Regions from separate parts of the Homo sapiens genome. Here regions 1 and 2 are each linked to region 3. The links are contacts of gene promoters, found by promoter capture Hi-C in blood cells and fetal thymus (Javierre and others, 2016). All regions are on one chromosome and are shown on one strand. The core of a region is centred on a gene start or on the middle of the fragment in contact, and the rest is flanking DNA. Distances in the headings are between cores, read along the strand shown. Region 1 has its middle 6.1 kb from the start of KCTD7. Region 2 has its middle 17 kb from the start of KCTD7. Region 3 holds the start of RABGEF1 (RAB guanine nucleotide exchange factor 1).

Region 1 (4,323 bases), core at 67-2,566, 120 kb before region 3:
CTCACAAAGTGTTGAGATTACAGGCATGAGCCACTTCAATATAATTATATTAATAATTTTATTAAATAAAATAAATAAAAATAGAAAACAGAATTCATCAAAAGCTTACATGTAGGCTGGGCATGGTGGCTTATGCCTGTATTCCCAGCACTTTGGAAGGTTAGGACAAAAGGATCACTTAAGGCCAGAAGTTCGAGACCAGCCTCAGCACCATAGTGGGACCCTGTCTCTACACAAAATTTTAAAACTTTAAAAATTGTCTGGGCATGGTGGTGCATGCCTATAGACCTAGGTCCTCGTGAGGCTAAAATAGGAGGATCACTTGAGCCCAGGAGTTTGAGGCTGCAGTGAGCTATGATCACACCACTGCACTCCAGCCTGGGCAACAGAGCGAGACCCTGTCTCAAAGAAAAAAAGACGAGCCTGGGCAACGTAGTGAGACTCCAACTCTATGAAAAATTTTAAAAATCAGCAGAACATGGTGGTGCACTCCGGTAATCCCAGCTACTTGGGAGGCTGATGTGGGGGAATCACTTGAGCTTGGGAGGTCGTGCCTGCAGTGAGCCATGTTCACACCACTGCACTCCAGCCTGGGTAACAGAGTGAGACCTTGTCTCAAAAAACAAAAACAAAAAAAAAAAGGAAAACAAAGACCGGGCGCGGTGGCTCACGCCAGTAATCCCAGCACTTTGGGAGTCTGAGGCGAGTGGATCACGAGGTAAGGAGTTCAAGACTAGCCTGGCCAAGATGGTGAAACCCCATCTCTACCAAAAAATACAAAAAATTAGCTGGGTACGGTGGCAGGCGCCTGTAATCCCAGCTACTTGGGAGGCTGAGGCAGGAGAATCACTTGAACTCGGAGGGCGGAGGTTGCAGTGAGCTGAGATTGTGCCACTGCACTCCAGCCTGGGCGACAGAGTGAGACTCTGTCTCAAAAAAAAAAAAAAAAAAAAAAAAAGGAAAGAAAAAGAAAGGAAAAAGAAAAGGCTGGGTGCGGTGGCTCATGCCTGTAATCCCAGTACTTTGGGAGGCCAAGGCGGATGGATCACAAGGTCAGGATAAGGAAGGAGGCTGGGCGGGAGGCTGAGGCGGGCGGATCACGAGGTCAGGAGATCGAGACCATCCTGGCTAATATGGTGAAACCCCGTCTCTACTAAAAATACAAAAAAAATTAGCCGGTCATGATGGCGGGCGCCTGTGGTCCCAGCTATTCAGGAGGCTCAGGCAGGAGAATGGCGTGAACCCGGGAGGCGGAGTTTGAAGTGAGCCGAAATCGCGTCACTGCACTCCAGCCTGGGCGACAGAGCGAGACTCCGTCTCAAAAAAAAAAAAAAAAAAAGATAAGGAAGGAGCCCACTACTACTCCTGCTGCCCTTCTCCCACGACATTGCCTAGTTCACAAAACGGGAGGAAAGAGAGAAAGCAAAAAGTTGGAAAGAAACAGAAGATAAGTAGCCAGACAACCTTGGCACCACCATCCGGCCCTAGGAATTAAAAAAAATAATAACTACTTGTGTTATCTGTAAATTCCACACATTGTATGAAAAAGCATTGCAAGACCTAGCTCCTCGGGAGGCTAAAATGGGAGGATCACTTGAGCCCAGGAGTTTGAGGCTGCAGTGAGCTATGATCACACCACTGCACTCCAGCCTGGGCAACAGAGTGAGACTCTGTTTTTAAAAAAACAACAAAAGGAAAAGAAGCCTACATGTAAAGAGCTTGAGTTGAGAGCACTTCAGGACCTGTGTCATCGTGCACAGTGAAGATATCTATGGTGACTAACGTGCATCCCAAACCAAAGAGCCCTCCCTGAATGCTTTGCTCTGGTTAATACTCCCAGGACGCTCACCACTTAAGACCCTTCCCACCAGCCCAGCATTATAGTATCCTGGGATTCCCTACCTCTATGATATTAATAACAGCAATTTATTCCTCTATATGCTAATAGCACTAATGAAATAGATGAGAAAAAAATCTATGGTCATTGGTAACTATTTGAGCTTGATCATAGCACAAACTTCTTTCACATATCAATTTATTGAGTTTCTACTATGCGCCAGGCATTGTACTAGACTGCGGAGATATTACAGAGATGAATAGAACAGCAAAATGGATGCTTCCATCTGTCTTTTTTTTTTTTTTTTTTTTTAGAGACAGAGTCTTGCTTTGTCACCCAGGAAGTGCAGTGGTGCGATCTCCACTCACTGCAACCTCTGCCTCTCAGGTCCAAGCAATTATCCAGCCTCAGCCTCCTGAATAGTTAGGATTACAGGCACCCACCACCATGCTCAGGTAATTTTTGTATTTTTAGTAGAGACGAGGTTTCGCCATGTTGGCCAGGCTGGTCTCGAACTCCTGACCTCAGGTGATCCGCCCGCTTTGGCCTCCCAAAGTGCTGGGGTTACAGGCATGAGCCACATGGCACCCATCCATCCATCCAGTCTTTTGACATCCATAAAGCTGGAGACCAACACTGGGACCTCTGCTACAGCCACAGCAAAAAAGAAAAGTCTTAACATATTCGTGTCCAAGCTTGCCTGCAGAAAGAGCAAAAAGTATATGGTCTTCAATCCGGTGTTCACATTTGCCCTCCAAATCTCCAGGGTATTGATCCGCTTGGTGAAGGCTGGGTCACCTGCAGAACCCAGAACACAAGGTACTCTGGGAAAAAGTAACTTTTAGATTTCAAGCTTCCAGCATTCAAGTGAGGCACACTTTAGGGAGGCCAGAAAAGAGATGAGAGGGCTGGGAGAGGTGGCTCACACCTGTAATCCCAGTACTTTGGGAGGCCGAGGCAGGTGGATCACTTGAGATCAGGAGTTGGAGACCAGCCTGGCCAACATGGTAAAACCCCGTCTCCATTAAAATACAAAAAAAATTTAGCCAGGCGTGGTGGTGTGCGCATGTAATTCCAGCTATTCGAGAGGCTGAGGCAGGAGAATCCCTTCAACCAGGGAGGCAGAGGTTGCAGTGAGTCGAGATTACACCACTATACTCCAGCATGGACAACAAAGTGACACTGTGTCTCAAAAAAAAAAAGAGATGAGAAAGCCAATCTGAACTATTGGCCACATTTACGAAGTGGACAATTGGAAGAAAAGTCCAAGCTAAGGAATAACAGTGGGTAATGAATGGGGGTGTATCAGCGACTGAGGGGGAGTTGAGAGCAGTAGGCCCTTAGCCAAGCTTTTATGCCAGGGGAGGCTGCTGGCAAAAAAACTTTTTTCTTTTCTTTTTTTTTTCTTGAGACGGGGTCTCACTCTGTCACCCAGTCTGGAGTGCAATGGCATGATCTCAGCTCACTGCAACCGCCACCTTCCTGGTCCAAGTGACGGTCCTGCCTCAGCCCCTTGAGTAGCTGGAACTACAGGCAGTCACCACCACACCTGGCTAATTTTTGATTTTTGTATTTTTATTAGAGACCAGGTTTCACCATGTTGGCCAGGTTGGTCTCTAACTTCTGATCTCAGGTGATCTGCCCGACTCTGCCTCCCAAAGTGCTGGGATTACAGGTGTGAGGTACCGTGTTCAGCCCCTTCTCATGGATTCTGCAGTGTTGGATTCTAGAATTAGTCACTGGCTTGCTTCCTTTCCCATTCTGCATATTCTCTCAAAGTGACTTCATCTGCTTTCTTGGTTTCAATTACCACCTGTATATAGTAAAGATTCCTAAATTTAAATTGCCAACCCAGAGTTTTCTCTTGAACTTCAAATTTTTATCCTACGTGAAACCGACAGTGCCTACTGATGTCCCCAGGGGCACCTCAAACTTACCATGTCCAAATCTAACATCATCTTCCCACCAAATATTTTCATCTGTCTTTATTTCCCTCAATTTTTCAATTTTTTTTTTGACAAAGTCTCACTCTGTCACCCAGCCTGGAGTGCAGTGGTGTGATCTCGGCTCACTGCAACCTCTGCTTCCTGGGTTCAACTGATTCTCATGCCCCAGCCTCCTGAGTAGCTAGGATTACAGGTGCCTGCCACCACGCCTGGCTAATTTTTGTATTTTAGTAGAGATAGGGTTTCACCATGTTGGCCAGGCTGGTCTCAAACTCCTGACCTCAGGTGATCCACCTGCCTCAGCCTCCCAAAGTGCTGGGAATACAGGTGTGAGCCACCACGCTTGGCTAGTTCCTTCAATTCTTTCAATTATTTGTCCCTTAGCCAAGAGGAATGAAGGGAGAAATATCAGTTGAGAGGGTGGAGTTAGAAGTTTGGCCTTCACTTGCTCTTTCATCCTTAAAAAGTGTTTTTTGGCCAGGCACAGTGGCTCACACCTGTAATCCCAGCACTTTGGGAGGCCTAGGTAGGTGGATCACC
Region 2 (4,805 bases), core at 1,151-3,650, 94 kb before region 3:
AGTCAGGATTCAAACCCAGAGCCCCTTTCTGAAATCCTCAGAGGTGTTCAACAGCATGATCCTCCCTTCCTCTTGACAGCTCGTATCCTCCTCCTGAGGTTTAGGGCTTCACTCTACCTGACCTGTGAAGATTTGAAAGCACATATCTAGGACAAGTATTAGAAAGTCTTCATACTTCAGGAAAGGATTTTAGGAAAAAAGGAAAAAAAAAATCTCCCATAGATGTTGTATTAGTCCATTTTCACACTGCTGTAAAGAACTACCTGAGACCGGTTAATTTATAAAGAAAAGAGGTTTAATTGACCCACAGTTCACATCCCTGGGAGGCCTCAGGAAACTTATAATCATGGCAGAAGGCGAAGTTCAGAAGCAAGGCACATCTTATATGGAGGCAGGAGAGAGAGAGAATGGGGAGGCCAGGCATGGTGGCTCATGCCTGTATAATCCCAGCACTTTGGGAGGCCGAGGCAGGCAGATCACGAGGTCAAGAGATTGAGACCATCCTGGCCAACATGGTGAAACCCCATCTCTATTAAAAAACAAAATACAAAAAAATTAGCTGGGCATGGTGGCGTGCACCTGTAGTCCCAGCTACTCGGGAGGCTGAGGCAGGAGAATCACTTGAACTCAGGAGGCAGAGGTTGCAATAAGCCGAGATCATGCCACTGCACTCCAGCCTGGAAACAGAGTGAGACTCCATCCCACAAAAATAAAAAAAGAGTGGGGAAATGCTACACTTTTAAACCATCAGAGCTCGTGAAAACTCACTATCACAAGAACAGCATAGGGGAAATCTACCTCCATGATCCAATCACCTCCCTCCAGGTCCCTCCCCTGACAAGTGGGGATTACAGTTCAACATGAGATTTGGGTGGGGACACAGAGCCAAACCATATCAAATGTGTAGTCCTTATGTAGCCCCTGTGTTAAGGGGGTAGATGGGGCTCCCGATTTACTGACCTTCTTAGTGAGGGACACATATCCGCTAGGTGAAGGAGGCCCTGTTCACAGGATGATGTATGGAGTATGACAGAGTAGGTGAGTCATGGCTCCTTGGCTAGACCCCAAGGGTGGGATGATCTGGAACCACCTGAGTTAATGACACTCCTGAAGCCTTGCAGGTATCCCTGCATAGACAAGCTGGATAGCCTACTTCCAACATCAAAAGCATAACAGAATGGGAGACTCCTTAGTGTAGTTCAGGGGATGCCATGTGCCTGGCTTGGGACTCATGGCCCTTGGACTTAGATCTCTATACTGCCAAGTGTCCCGTCTTCATTCTTGTGTAGATGACCTCTTCACTACTTAATTTTGGTTTGTTGAACTTATAGCCTGTTCCCTTAGCTTTTATTTACTTACCTTTAGCTTTCTTTTAATTCCTTACCACATTGTTTTTCCTATCATGTACTTTAGCTTAATTTCTCTGTTTTTTAAACATAATTTTAAACTTTCTTTCTTTCTTTCTTTTTTTTTTTTTTGAGACAGTCTTGCTCTGTTGCCCAGGCTGCAGTGTAGTGGTGCAATCTCAGCTCACTACATCCTCCACCAGCTGGGTTCAAGCAATCCTCCTTCGTCAGCCTCCCAAGTAGCTGGGATTACAGACGCGCCACCAAGCCTGGCTAATTTTTGTATTTTTAGTAGAGATGGGGTTTCACCATATTGGCCAGACTGGTCTCAAACTCCTGACCTCAGGTGATGTACCCGCCTTGGCCTCCCAAAGTGCTGGGAGTACAGGCATGAGCCACCACCACACCGAGCCTAGTAGTTTTTGTTTTGAGAAAGAATAGTTAGGTGCTTTTCTTTTCCCTTCCCCAGTCATGTCTACAGTGATCTTATTAGCTGTGAACTTAGGTACCTCATTTTTTCTCAGATGAATACCTGCTTCTAAAATCTAAATGCAAAGTAAGAGTGACAGTATTACTATAAAATTCATAGATGTTCATTATCTAGGTATATTCAAAGGACAGAATTTTATGTCTTCTTCCAAAGTGTACCCCTGACCCTCCACCACACCACACACACACACACACATGAAATAATAAACAGAGCAGCCTTAGGAAGAGGGCAGTTCAATTCCTGGACTGCAAAGGACTTCTTCTCTCACACACTTGTTTTTCCTGAGGAATGACATGATCTGGAAATCCTAGGTATCCCCCTTCTCCAACCACTTGACACCAGGTGGACACAGAGCTGTTGTACACCAGGAGAAGATCCAGTCAACTGTGGGAAAGACTGAACCATGAACCATCCAGAAATACTCCGTAACAGGGGCCTGTCATCAGATTATGATGTACCTTTTCTAGCCACCTCTGGCCTCTATGTCAACCTTATTCACACCTCAACAAACCATGACTTCTGAGGATTCTCTTTTTTTTTTTTTTTTTTTTTTTTTGAGACGGAGTCTCATTCTGCTGCCCAGGCTAGAATGCAGTGGTGCAGTCTCAGCTGACTGCAACCCCCGCATCCCGGGTTCAAGCAATTCCCTGCCTCAGCCTCCCAAGTAGCTGGGATTACAGGTGCTCGCTACCACACCCGGATAATTTTTGTATTTTTAGTAGAGATGGAGTTTCACCATCTTGGCCAGGCTAGTCTTGAACTCCTGACCTTGTGATCCACCCACCTCAGCCTCCCAAAGTGCTGGGATTACAGGCGTGACCCATCGCACTTGGCCAGGATTCTCTTAATGTAATACAGACCCTCATTTCTTCCCCGTATCATATGATCCTGGCAGATGGCCCAGCCCCAGTAGATTTTTGGAATGGAGGTATCCATACTTTTCTCAGTCATTATTAAAATCAAGAAATAGAATCACATAGCAACACAAAACTTGGAGCTTGACCCTCATTAAAAGAAACTTACAGGTTCAGAGTCCAGTTGAAGAAATCTTTGTATCTCCAGTATTTTTGTAAAGAGGTCAGGGTGGTATCATGAGTAGGCTTAAGTCCCTACAGTCTTTGTGAACTTTTATAAATGCCTTGGGTATCCAGTTTCTCAACATAGCATCTTCATCACCAACTGTACCTCAGCTGACTGCCCCAAGGGCCCACCCGTGTGTGCACACGTTGCAGGTGTTTACTGTCCCTCTCACCATGTCCTCCTCCACCTCTCCCCTCTGTTTGTAACTGTCCTGTCTTTGATATTTAAAAGCTAGTTGGCCACTTCTGGCCATGCCTTATCTGGTACCTGTTAGCCAACCATGACAGTGATGCCATACCCAGGACTGTCTGCTTCTTGTTCTCAGGCAGGTAGGTGCTCTCAGCACTGATGTCTCTTGCTTTCCAAGTCAGCTTTTACATCTGGCCTGCTAGGAACTGGAGAGCATTTTCAGTCTTCATAGCAGCAGCATAGGATCCTGCAGGCTCTGTATCCACCTAAGTTAAGGTAAGGTGGATACACATCCTGGAAACTCTGTATCTACCTCCACAACAGCTGCAGAGGATGCCTGCAGGATCACACTGAGCAGACACACTAGTTTCATCACACTAGTTTCATCTTCTGCACCAGAAAGGAAGAATCTATTTTGCCTGGCCAGGCATGGTGGTTCACACCTGTAATCCTATAGCACTTTGAGAGGCAGAGGCAAGAGGATTGCCTGAGGCCAGGAGTCCAGGACCAGCCTGGGTGACATAGCAAGATCCTATGTCCAAAAAAACAAAATTCAAAAACATAAGCCAGGCAGGGTGGTGTGCACCTGCAGTCCCAGATACTTGGGAGCCTGAGGTGGGAGGTTCACTTGAGCCCATGAGGTTGAGGTTGCAATGAGCCGTGATTGCACTACTGCAGTCCAGCCTCAGTGACAGAACAAGACCCTGTCTCTAAAATAAAAAGTAAAATAAATAAATATTTTGCTTGGAAACCGAGTTCACCATGAGTTTCTTAACAAAAATATGAACTTAACTAATGAGCTGACCACATCGCTATTAGATGAAATGAGGGTGGCATTATTTACTCAGCACTCCCAGGAGTCAAGGCAGAATGTAATTGCTTCCAGACATATTCAGGGGATATTCCACCCAATTATCTAATTTTATTCTTCAAAGGCGGCTGTATTTGGAAACTCCCATTGGTCCAGAGAGACAGAACAATGAGAAGAAATCCCCTGTCCAGTTGCCTGCAGGAGTATTCCAACACTTCATGGGCTAGAGGATTCCATTGAGATGGGGTTTACGTCTTGATTTTGAACACCTGTCAGCACTGTTCTCTGTTTGCATGGCAATTCTGACCCTTTTATGGCAACAACACCCCTGGGACAACCCAGATTTGTAGATTGAGATCCAAAGGTAGAATTTCCAGACAGTCCAACCAAGGTATCAAGTGATGTTTCCAGAGTGGAAGGCTCTCACCGTGTCCCAGGATTTCTGGGGTTTGTAAGCAGTACTGGCCATTTGTGACCCTGTTTTTTACCTAATCATTCTGTCTTTTTAGGACATGGTTTTACCCGATCCCTGGCAAAGGATCCAGAATTCCAATAGCTGAAAACCCTGTTATAGCTTTTCTCCTATTCTGCCTTACCCAAGACACACTTGAACCCCTCAGTAAGGCTATAGAGAGGGCCATGAGCAGGGGCAGCCTCTCCCTTGTTTCTACAGCTCCATGATGAGGGGTTGACTGAGGCCAGCAATCCTTGTAGGTGTGACAGTTGCAATATAATTAACAGTTTCAAGATCTAGAGGTACCTTTTGAAAGAACCCCTTCAGGGATATCTATCCACAGTAGCCTGGAGCAGCCAAGGTGAACCTGAGATTTTGACCCACACAATAAGGGGGGGCCATTCTTTTTCAAATATTTTGGCTTCAGAATACACT
Region 3 (4,803 bases), core at 901-3,400:
CTAGCTGGGTGTGCTGGCACACACCTATCATCCCAGCTACTAGGGAGGTGGAGGCAGAAGGATCACTTGAGCCAGGGAGTTGGAGGCTGGAGTGCGCCGAGATTGCACCACTGTGCTCCAGCCTGGGCAACAGAGTGAGACTCTAACTCAAAAAAAAAAAAAAAAAAGAAACACTCATTCTGTTTCACAGAATGGTTTATAGAATGGTGTGTTGCCTGATTCTGTAATCACAAAAGTCAGTTAAGAGCTTTAAAGTAAATGTTATTCTGTCTTTTGGTAATAGCAATTACCACCATCCAAGGTACTACTGTAAATAATTATTGTTTATTCCCTCCTCCACCTCCTCAGCACAGGTACTTTGTGTTTTTTTGTTTTGTTTTGTTTTTTGAGGAGGAGTTTCACTCGTTGCCCAAGCTGGAGTGCAATGGCGCAATCTCAGCTCACTGCAACCTCCGCTTCCCGGGCTCAAGTGATTCTCCTGCCTCAGCCTCCCAAGTTGCTGGGATTGCAGGCATGTGCCACCATGCCTGGCTAATTTTGTATTTTTAGTAGAGACAGGGTTTCTCCATGTTGGTCAGGCTGGTCTTGAACTCCCGACCTCAGGTGATCTGCCCGCCTCGGCTTCCCAAAGTGCTAGGATTACAGGCGTGAGCCACTGCGCCTGGCCTTACTTTTGTTTTATACTCTGTTGTACCCTCAGCGTAGCACACATTAGGCACTTAGGAAGAATCTGAGAAACGAATCAGTTAATCCCTACTTTACCAATAATGAATAAAGACTGAGAAACTCGGGCCGGGCGCAGTAGCTCACACCTATAATCCTAGCACTTTGGGAAGCCAAGGTGGGCGGATCACTTGAGGTCAGGATTCAAAACCAGCCTGGCCAACATGGTGAAACCCTGTCTCGACTAAAAATACAAAAAAAAAAATATGAGCTGGGCGTGGTGGCGGGTGCCTGTAATTCCAGCTACTTGGGTGGCTGAGGTGGGAGAATCGCTTGAACCTAGGAGGCGGAGGTTGCAGTAAGCCGAGATCGCACGACTGAACTCCAGTGTGGGCGACAGAGTGAGAGTCTCAAAAAAAAAAAAAAAAAAAAAAAAAATAGACTGAAAAATTACGCAACCTGTCCAAGAACACTACAGCGACAATTAGCAAAGCTGGGATTTTAACCCAGGTCTATCTCACAGCCACAGCATAGTATTTTCTTTTTTTTCTTGCTGTGACTGCACGTTACGCCATACATGGCATTCAGGACGCAGAGGAATTAGTATTTACTGTTTTTAACATTCCTTACATGGGAATCACGTAAAGAATCAGGTAAACAGGATTCAATTTGTGACTCAACCATTAATACTTTGTGACACTGGCTAATTTATTTCACTTCTGGATGTCGGTTATGTTTTTTTTGAGACAGGATCTCGCTCTGCTGTCACCCGGCCTGGAGTTCAGTGGAGGGATCTCTGCACCGTCAACTTCCTGGGCTATCAAGCGATCCTCCCACCTCAGCCTCCCTGGTAGTTGGGACCACAGGTGCCCGCCATCATGTCCGGCTGATTTGTAAAATTTCTTTTGTAGAGATGGTGACCTTGCTCTGTGGCCCAGGCTGGTCTCGAACTCCTGGACTCAAGCGATCCTCCTGCCTGGGCCTCCTAAAGATTCAGCTGCTTTTGGATCAACCGATCGCCTTAAGACCTTTTAACTCGAACACCTGTCACATCCTAGGATCCGCGAAGGACTGAAACAGAGTTTCTGAAGCGTCCCTCGGCGCAGTAGCTCCGCTCCACCTCCCATTCGCGCTACCACCGCGGCCGCAGCCCCAGGAGTCGCCGCGGAGCCAGCGTCGCCCTCCAGCTGTTGCGCGTCGGAAGCCGGAAGCAGGGACTGAGCGACAGACTAGGAAACGCCGGTTTCTCCGGGGCTCCCCAGCGCCCCACCTTTACCCCGGAGGCCGCCCTCTTCCATTTGCTCTTGGGCGTCAGGGCGGTACCCCACTCCGCTCGACCCTTTGGATCCACTCGCACTTCCTCCCGTCCAGAGTCAAAGGCCCCGGAAGTGACGTTTACGCGCCGCGCGTAACGTGCGTTCGCTGGCGGTGCCGGGGGCGGGGCGAGCAGGAGGGTGGGTGTGAGGCGGGAGCTGGCCGCGGAGCCCAGACCTACCCGGGCGAAGCGGGCGAGCGGTGGTTTGGACGCCGGCGGAGACGCGGGCGAGGTACGGAGCGGACGGACTGGGGCTGAGAGCTGCTCGGCTCTCAGCTACAGGAGCGGGGCGGCGGGGCGTCTCGGGCTGGGGGTGGCAGGGCGGTCGGTCCGTGCCATCCGCGCGGCTGGGGCAGTTGCGCGTCGGTGCCTCCCGCTGTCCTTCGTCCCACATTCCGTCTCCGTCAGCGCCGCCTTCCCCGTTCCAGGCCGCCCTCGGCTCCCTTAATCCTCAGAGTGCGGCCTCTCCGTCCCAGACGCTAGTTGCCGGGATCTCCAGCGCCAGCCGAGCCCCGACGGCCTGACGCGGAGCATTTCCTGGCCGCCTCCCTCTCCGGCGGCTCCCCTCGCCCCGGCTCCCACCTTCCGTCCAGGCCGCTGGCTCCGAAGCAGCGTCTGTGGTCGCACGGGGCCCCTCCCACAACCTCCCCGGAAAGCGCTGGTATGGGACGCTCGGACCCAGACCACAGCCCCCGGCCGCGGCAGGGGCGCGGGGACTTGATCCCACGTCACCCTAGGGGGCAGAAGTGTCCCGGAGTTGGGAGGGGATTTGAAGCCTGTGGTCCTGACTTCCACCCCGTGGCTGAGGGCGAGGCTGCGGGGCCGGGGTTAGGAGCAGAAGTCCCTGCTTCCGAACCGTCTGGGAGGAGAGCCGAGGGATGCCCATCACGGCAGTTTAGGGAGAGAGAGGGAGGGACTCTGCCGCTTTGGAGGCTAGGTCATAGGCAGCTGGCGGTGTCTCAGCGCGGGTGACCAATCCTTGCGGTTGGGAAATGTGTCGTGGGCGCCCGTGGGCTCGTTTTGCCTTTGAGATTAGGTAGGAAATTTTCCCAGGACGAGTTTACCGGAGCACCTTGGGAGTTGGTTTTTGGCCTGGAGAGCTGCTTTCCCCCCTCTAAACCTAGAACTGCTTTGTTTTTATTTATTATTTTTTTCGACATGGGATCTCACAGTGTTGCCCAGGCAGGTGTGAAACTCCTGGCCTTAAGTGATCCTCCCGCCTCGGCCTCCCAGAGTGTTGGGATTATAGGCGTGAGCCATTGCGCGGCTTTAACTGCTGTTAAAGAGTGTGTTCCGGCCGGGTGCGGTGGCTCACGTCTGTAATCCCAGCATTTGGAAGGCCAAGGCAGGCGGATCATGACGTCAGGAGCTTGAGACCATCCTCCCTAACACGGTGAAACCCCGTCTCTACTACAAATAAAAAAAAAAAAGAAAAAGAAAATTTGCCGGGCATCGTGGCGGGCACCTGTAGTCCCAGCTACTCTGGAGGCTGAGGCAGGAGAATGGCATGAACCCGGGAGGCGGAGGTTGCAGTGAGCCGAAATCGTGCCACTGCACTCCAGCCTGGGCGACAGAGCTAGACTCTATCTCAAAAAAAAAACTAAGAGTCTGTTCCTTAAAATTGTTGTACCAAGAAACTTGCCAGAGATGCAAGAAAATGTGATTATATTGTTAATATTTAATGATAAATAACATTTTGCTTTTAAGAGTCACTGATTCATATCCGCAGGATTAAGAAATGTTCAGGATTTGAATTTTTAATGACCTTCCAAGCAGTCATGTTTCTGCTCTCTAGAAGTTAGCCAGTTGAGGAGAAGGGACAGTCAAGATACTTTCAAAACAGTGTGGTAAGGAATGTGAGCTAAGATGGAGCACCGAGGAAGGAGCCGGGCATTTAGGCCATGCTGTTGGGTGTGGAGCCTGGAAGGGATCAGGGAATACTTTCTGCATGTGTCTTGAAGAATGACTAACATTCAGACTAACAGGGTGGAGTGAGGGAGAGGGGGGAATCAAAGGAGAGGAGGCCAGTAACTACAAGGAGGTGCCTATTAATTTATTTATTGAGAGAGAGGGTCTCACTTTGTCACCCAGGCTGGAGTACAGTGACACGATCACGAGTCACTGAAGTCTCAACTGCCTGTGCTGAAGTGATCCTCCCACCTCAGCCTCCCGAGTAGCTAAGACTGCAGATGCGTGCCACCACACCCAGCTGATTTTTAAATATTTTGTAAAGATGTTGTCTTGCTGTGTTGCCCTGGCTGATCTCAAACTCCTGCACTCAAGCAATCTTCCTGCCTCAAGCGTCCCAAGTGCTGAAATTACAGGCATCAGCTACCGAGCCTGGAGGGTCGTTACTAAAGTGAAAAAGTGCAGGACAGAGATGTAGGAGCTCAGGCTTCCTCTGATGGTGACAGAACCAGGGGAAGTTTTTTAGCTGGGTCCTTGTGTGGTTAAAATGGGTCTCTCTGGCCAGGCGCGGTGGCTCACGCCTGTAATCCCAGCACTTTGGGAGGCCGAGGCGGGCGGATCACGAGGTCAGGAGTTTGAGACCAGCCTGAGCAACATGGTGAAACCCCATCTCTACTAAAAACACTAAAATTAGCTTGGTGTGATGGCGCCTGCCGTAATGCTAGCTACTCAGGAGGCTGAGGTAGGAGAATTGCTTGAACCTAGCAATTCTAGGAGGTTGTGGTGAGCCAAGATTGTACCAATGCACTCCAGCCTGGGCGACAGAGCGAGACCTCGTCTCAAAAAAAAGAAAAAAATTTAAAAAAAAAAAAAAGGCTCTCTCTCTCTCCCTGTCTCCCAGGCTGGAATGCAGTGGC

Evidence for each region. The method cuts DNA at HindIII sites, captures the fragments that hold promoters and counts their contacts. A CHiCAGO score of 5 or more calls a contact.
Region 1: a fragment that was not itself captured here is called in contact with the fragment with the promoter of RABGEF1 in region 3 in 3 of 17 cell types (activated CD4 T cells, non-activated CD4 T cells and naive CD4 T cells); the score reaches 6.2 in activated CD4 T cells.
Region 2: a fragment that was not itself captured here is called in contact with the fragment with the promoter of RABGEF1 in region 3 in 1 of 17 cell types (neutrophils); the score reaches 5.3 in neutrophils.

The regions. Positions count from the first base shown.
Region 1 is chr7:66,620,649-66,624,971 of GRCh38, forward strand. No RefSeq gene overlaps it. Among named protein-coding and RNA genes, the nearest start is that of KCTD7, 6.1 kb to the right of the region's middle. The HindIII fragment of the contact is 2,428 bases long and covers 103-2,530 here.
Region 2 is chr7:66,643,838-66,648,642 of GRCh38, forward strand. No RefSeq gene overlaps it. Among named protein-coding and RNA genes, the nearest start is that of KCTD7, 17 kb to the left of the region's middle. The HindIII fragment of the contact is 7,195 bases long and covers 1-4,805 here.
Region 3 is chr7:66,738,583-66,743,385 of GRCh38, forward strand. RABGEF1 (RAB guanine nucleotide exchange factor 1) reads left to right here and starts at 2,151. Exons shown (of 9, transcript NM_014504.3): 1 at 2,151-2,210. RefSeq lists enhancers at 1,765-1,814, 1,828-2,494 and silencers at 1,945-2,214, 2,235-2,374. The HindIII fragment of the contact is 9,271 bases long and covers 1-4,803 here.